Linked DNA regions of Homo sapiens: region 2 is linked to region 1. The links are contacts of gene promoters, found by promoter capture Hi-C in blood cells and fetal thymus (Javierre and others, 2016). All regions are on one chromosome and are shown on one strand. The core of a region is centred on a gene start or on the middle of the fragment in contact, and the rest is flanking DNA. Distances in the headings are between cores, read along the strand shown. Region 1 holds the start of RGS16 (regulator of G protein signaling 16). Region 2 overlaps CACNA1E (calcium voltage-gated channel subunit alpha1 E).

Evidence for each region. Contacts are between HindIII fragments. The CHiCAGO score rates a contact against its expected background, and 5 or more counts as called.
Region 2: a fragment that was not itself captured here is called in contact with the fragment with the promoter of RGS16 in region 1 in 1 of 17 cell types (neutrophils); the score reaches 6.3 in neutrophils.

Annotation. Positions count from the first base shown.
Region 1 is chr1:182,603,036-182,605,735 of GRCh38, reverse strand. RGS16 (regulator of G protein signaling 16) reads left to right here and starts at 1,347. Exons shown (of 5, transcript NM_002928.4): 1 at 1,347-1,520; 2 at 2,397-2,507. The coding sequence starts at 1,477. RefSeq lists enhancers at 1,033-1,112, 1,583-1,632, 1,723-1,782. The HindIII fragment of the contact is 22,726 bases long and covers 1-2,700 here.
Region 2 is chr1:181,486,450-181,489,149 of GRCh38, reverse strand. All of the region lies in intron 1 of CACNA1E (calcium voltage-gated channel subunit alpha1 E), which reads right to left. Among named protein-coding and RNA genes, the nearest start is that of CACNA1E, 4.3 kb to the right of the region's middle. The HindIII fragment of the contact is 2,431 bases long and covers 158-2,588 here.

The sequences.
Region 1 (2,700 bases), core at 98-2,597:
CTTGGAACCAGCTGGGGTCTCTGTTGAAATGGCATGGCCTTCAACTCCTCCCTCTGCCCAGACCTGCTTTCTTTACTCCCTCTTAATTCTGATAACTCTCCCCAGTAAACCTCCTGCATGCAAGTGTCTACCCGAGTCTAGTTCCTAGGAACTCAAACTAAGAATTAATTTATTTAGTTCTCACAACCACCTTATGAAATAAGTTGTTCTCTTCGTAGAGACAAGGAAATGGAGGCATAGAAAGGTTAAGCAGTTTGCCTCGTCTCCCATCAGTAGCCAGTTAACAGTGAACGTGGCCTTCCTGCAGCTGGGTCTTCAGCAGGTCACCTGGCAGAGCCATGACTTGAAACCTGAAAATCTAACTCTAGACCCTGTACTTTTAACCTCACATACAGCCTCTTAATAGCAATCCCAATGCCTTTATGGGAAGATGAGGTGAGAGGAAGGGCATTTATTACCTTTATGTCAGAGATGGAGACAATAAGGTATTAACTGCTTAAACCCAGGATCGTCCACAGGTATAGCCGTGACCGGGTACTAACCTTTGTGTGTGTGTGTGGTGTGTGTGTGTGTGTGTGTGTGTGTGTGTGCAATGGAAAAAGAATGGCAAATTCACATTTGAATTTTGGAGCCAACACTTACTAGCTGCACATCTTTGAGCAAGTTATTTAATAACTAAGACTTTGAGCAAGTCTTACTTATGTGCCTAGCACATAGTAGGTGTTCAATAAACTACTCATCCCTATTCCACTTTTCTGTCATCTCCAACTGTGATCTTGGACAAGTTTATTTAGCTTTCTGATTCTCGATTTCTTCATCTATAAAATGGAGATGATGATGAAGAGCTTACTTAGCCCCGTGTCCATCATGGTAAGAGCCTCGTAAAGGGTACTTATCAGTATAATCAGATGCTGTTTTGCCCAGGTTTGCACCCTGTGCGCCTGTCCTCAGGACCCAGCAGGCTCAGACTTGCCTGCGATCAAAGAAAGCCCTGTGTGCCTCCCAGACCCACCACCCCCGTGCAAACTCTCTCAACACGACACCGCTGCGTGACTTTCCTGCTGTTACTAGAGGTCGGCAGGTACTTTTCCCTAGGAAACTGGGTGTGCACGTCTCATCCCCGTGCCAATTCTCTTGCCGCTTTTCCTTCCACACGCGGCGTCCTCTGGGCGGAGGGTGCAGCTCCGCGTGCTCCAGCTGCCGCGAAAGTTGCACCCGGCCCAGTCTGGCTGCGGGCCCCGCCTCCGCCTTCTCAGCGCCCAGCCCCACCCTCCGATTGGTCAGCAGTGCCCAGCCCCGCCCCGCTCCTCCGAGGGGATTTAAAGCAGCGGCCGCTCAGTCTGGGCGCTTGCAGGCTGCTAAACCCAACCGCAGTTGACTAGCACCTGCTACCGCGCCTTTGCTTCCTGGCGCACGCGGAGCCTCCTGGAGCCTGCCACCATCCTGCCTACTACGTGCTGCCCTGCGCCCGCAGCCATGTGCCGCACCCTGGCCGCCTTCCCCACCACCTGCCTGGAGAGGTAAGGGGAGGTTGTCCAACTGCTTGGGGGAAGTCCCACCAACTCTTAGGGAGTGGAGCGGCAGGCCTGGGGACCTGGGTGGGCGCGGGGATGGGGCGCTAGAGGCTTGAGTAGAGAGGTAGAAGCGCACTTGATGCCACGTGCTCAGATTCCAGGAGCAGGGAGAAAGCAAGGGGAAGGGAAGCAAGGGCCCGCGGCTTGCTGCCATCCCCATCCTCTGACAAACTGCAGTCGTGCTCAGGTGACCTGCTGAAGACCCGGCTGCGGGAAGGCCACGTTGACATTTCCAGGCAGCACTGAGCCTGCCCATTTCTTAAGCATTTGTTTTTCATTCCTCAGACCAGAGCTAGGGGCATTGCCTCCTCTGCCCCTGGAAGACAGGGAGATTTTTTTTTTTTTGGTGGGGTGTGTGGGGGTGGGGGCTCCCACTGTTGAGGGTGTGTCCATATTCCAGAGAGCTACTCAACAGCTTCCAATCCTTACTGGCTGGGAAGGAAAAAGTAAAGATGAAGGCAGGAATCAGTTTCCCACACAGTTCAGAAATACTTCTGAAAAGAATGCTGAGTTCTTTTCTGAATCAACAGGCACGAAGAGAGATCAGTGTGACTTTAGGGAAAAGCCCATATATGCAGCGTGTGTATTACCCAGAAAGTGTAAGACCTACCACAGCATAGCTCAAACATTGCTTTTGTTGCTTTGGGGTTGATGATGCTGATAAGAGAAGCACTCTTGGCCTGGGGACAGCCAAGAGTTTCCAGGAACTCTTGAGGCTAAAGTTTGGGTGGCACCACCCAGAGCTCTTCTGGGACCCATAAACCTCTCCACACTGGCTGAGCAAATGAGAGAATGCTTTCATGTTCCTGATTTGTTTTTCAGAGCCAAAGAGTTCAAGACACGTCTGGGGATCTTTCTTCACAAATCAGAGCTGGGCTGCGATACTGGGAGTACTGGCAAGTTCGAGTGGGGCAGTAAACACAGCAAAGAGAAGTAAGTGTTGCTGACCAGCTCAGGGCTCCGAGAGGGAAGGGAGTGGGAAGGGAGTCATGAGGAGGGAAATACAGGGAGAAGCCAGGACACGCTAAGTGGACCTTGGCAACACCTCCCTAGAGATTTTAGTGGGACTTGTTGCTGGTCTGTTATGACTACTTGGCTCATGGGTGAGTGGGTAGGTGGCTCCAGG
Region 2 (2,700 bases), core at 124-2,623, 1.1 Mb after region 1:
TCACCATTGATGGACTGGATTGCACATCTGGGCTTTGGTGTTTGGTGAGCTGTAGCTTTCCAGGCAGCCCTGTGCATGACGTAAGGGAGGTGGCTGACCTGCTCATCAAACACATGGAGTCAAGGGTTTGCAAGAGTTCTGAGAGCTTAGCAAAGCTTCACTCAGTTTTATTTTCACTAAGAATATGAAGATTGAAAGAAACCAGATGTTCCTATAAAGAAGGGGGAAAGCAGCAGAATTTGAGGGGGAAAAACACCTACATTTTGTACAGCAGTGCTATAAAGAGATAAGTAATTTTGGATGGAGCTAATAATTTCAGAGTCTGGATGTTTCAGAAGAAAAAAAAAGCAGGCCTGTTCTCATTACTTTCCTCTTCCTCCTTTAATTCATAGCATGCACTGCGCCTATTGCAGAAAAAGCAAGTGGAGGGAAGTGGAGAAATAATGACATGCAAACCAACAGACAAAACTATCACATTGAGGATATTTTTGTCTCTATCCTCAAGTCATTTCATTTCTGTCAAATTCCTTCACTCCAACTCATTTTTCAGGCTTCATCCCAATTATAAATGGTCCCCACAACAAGTCATGGCCTGGTTTCCACATGAAACATTACCCACACTTCATATCAAAAGCAAAGCCAACAGGCAATTCAGAGATTGTCCTGGGATGCTCAGAAAATGAAGAACTTTCTCCTACAGCTCCAGTACCAGCTGCAGTCACTATCTGTTTCACCATCTGCATCCACGCACAGGTACACAGAAGATATGAACCCCTCTGCATTATCTGATCATAGGATATAATTACAGACTTCATCCTTGTTAGCTGCCATCATCTTCCCTAATCAAGGCATCTTGACTCATGATTCACTAGTTACATCAAACCTGAAATTCTTACCGGGACCTCAGTCTACTATCCTGCAATGTGCTATACATTTATAGGCAACAAAAGCAGAAGAAAAGAAGACACCAAAATGGGAGATTTAAGAACTAAAACTTTTGGTAACCCTCACCAAAATCCTCCAAAATAAACGGACATTTTACAATGGGAGATTCACAGTAGTAAAGCATACAACCTCTGATCCATAGCCAGAGTGCTTTGGGGATACAGTGAAATTCTCTACAATAAGAAATCATGGATTAATGTCCACAGGTTCATTGTGATGAGCTTCATTATCTCAGGGCTGCAAACATATTTGACCTTCCTACTGTAAGCCATATTCATTTCCACACGAAGCATGTTCTCCCCTGCTGAGACAACCAAGGCGATGGAGGTGTGGGGGGAATATCCTATTGCCCAACTCTGGCATAGAGTCTCCAAGCCAGACACACTACTTCTTGCCTTCACACCCGTGACCTGGAAAAGTTCAAACAAGTGTGGGGCATCCTGCAAACCACATGAGAGATGCTGTATGGCCCACAGGGTAACTGGCCCTGGGCATGAAACAGTGAGAGCTGGTAAGCATGAGGCACGGTGAACATGGGAGGGCACTCAGAACAGCCAACTGCCAGAGAAGATCTATTAGATGAGCAAAAAAGAAAATGAAAACGAGGAATCGTATAGAATGTAACATCACATTTTAAATCACATTAGCATTTTTAAAAAGAGTATGGTATCCACTGCAGAGGAAAGTGCCATAAGAAAATAAAATTATCTCCCTATGCAGATGTAGCTTCCAAGAAAAATGAAACACATTCAGAGTAGGCTGTTGACTTGCCACCATCTTTCATGCCAAATCTGGGTTATCTTGAGCATTTCTTCCCATAAGAACTAGACCTCCCCTATTAATAACTGGATAAGATTACCCTCCCCCTCCAAGTCGGGGTGATCCTAGAAGCATAAATTAAACCATTCCTTTTACTTAACCAATCTTTTCAGACAAACATGATTAAAGACCAGTAATGCACAGCATGATGAGACCACTAATGCGGCACATAGAAGTGTACATTATCCCCCTCGTCCTACAGTGACTTTCTGCAGCCAATGAAAGTGTAAGTCTCAAAACGTGTTGTAACACAAACAAAATCCTCAAGCATGCTAAATGTGCAAATGTCAATATGAAAGCAGGTCTTGACATGTTTTCTGAACAACTGAACAACCTTCCTTTCTTAAAAAAAAAAAAAAAAATCTGGCACTTACAAAGAGCAAAGAAGTACTTCCTAAACTTTAATGAGCATATTAATCACACAGGGATCTCATTACAATGCAGATTCTGATTCAGCAGGATTGAAGTGGGGCCCAGGATTCTGAATTTTTAGCAAGCTCCCAGGTGATGTGGATGCAGCTCCTTGCTCTCTTTGAGAGGCAAGAATCTAGAGGACTTCACCTGAACTAAGACCCCTCCCCACTTCAGGCACGCTGAAATTTCTGAAAGATGCCATTAATAATAACAACTAGTGATTACTGGGTAATTAGATAATGTTTTAGGCATGTGATATATATTAAGTCATTTAATTCTCCCAGTATTATTATTATTATCCTCATTTAACAGGTAAGAAGACTGAGTCACAGAGTAATGAAGTAATTTTCAAGGTCAGAAAGCTGGTGAAGGAACTAGGATTTCAACCCAGGCAGCCTAGCTCCAAAGCTTTATGGGCAACCACTACCCAGACTGACTCCCAATAAGACAAAGCAAGATACTTGGGAAGTTATTTGTTTAGAAAGGAAAGGAAGGTGAGACTAGGAATTTAGGTGCGTTTCC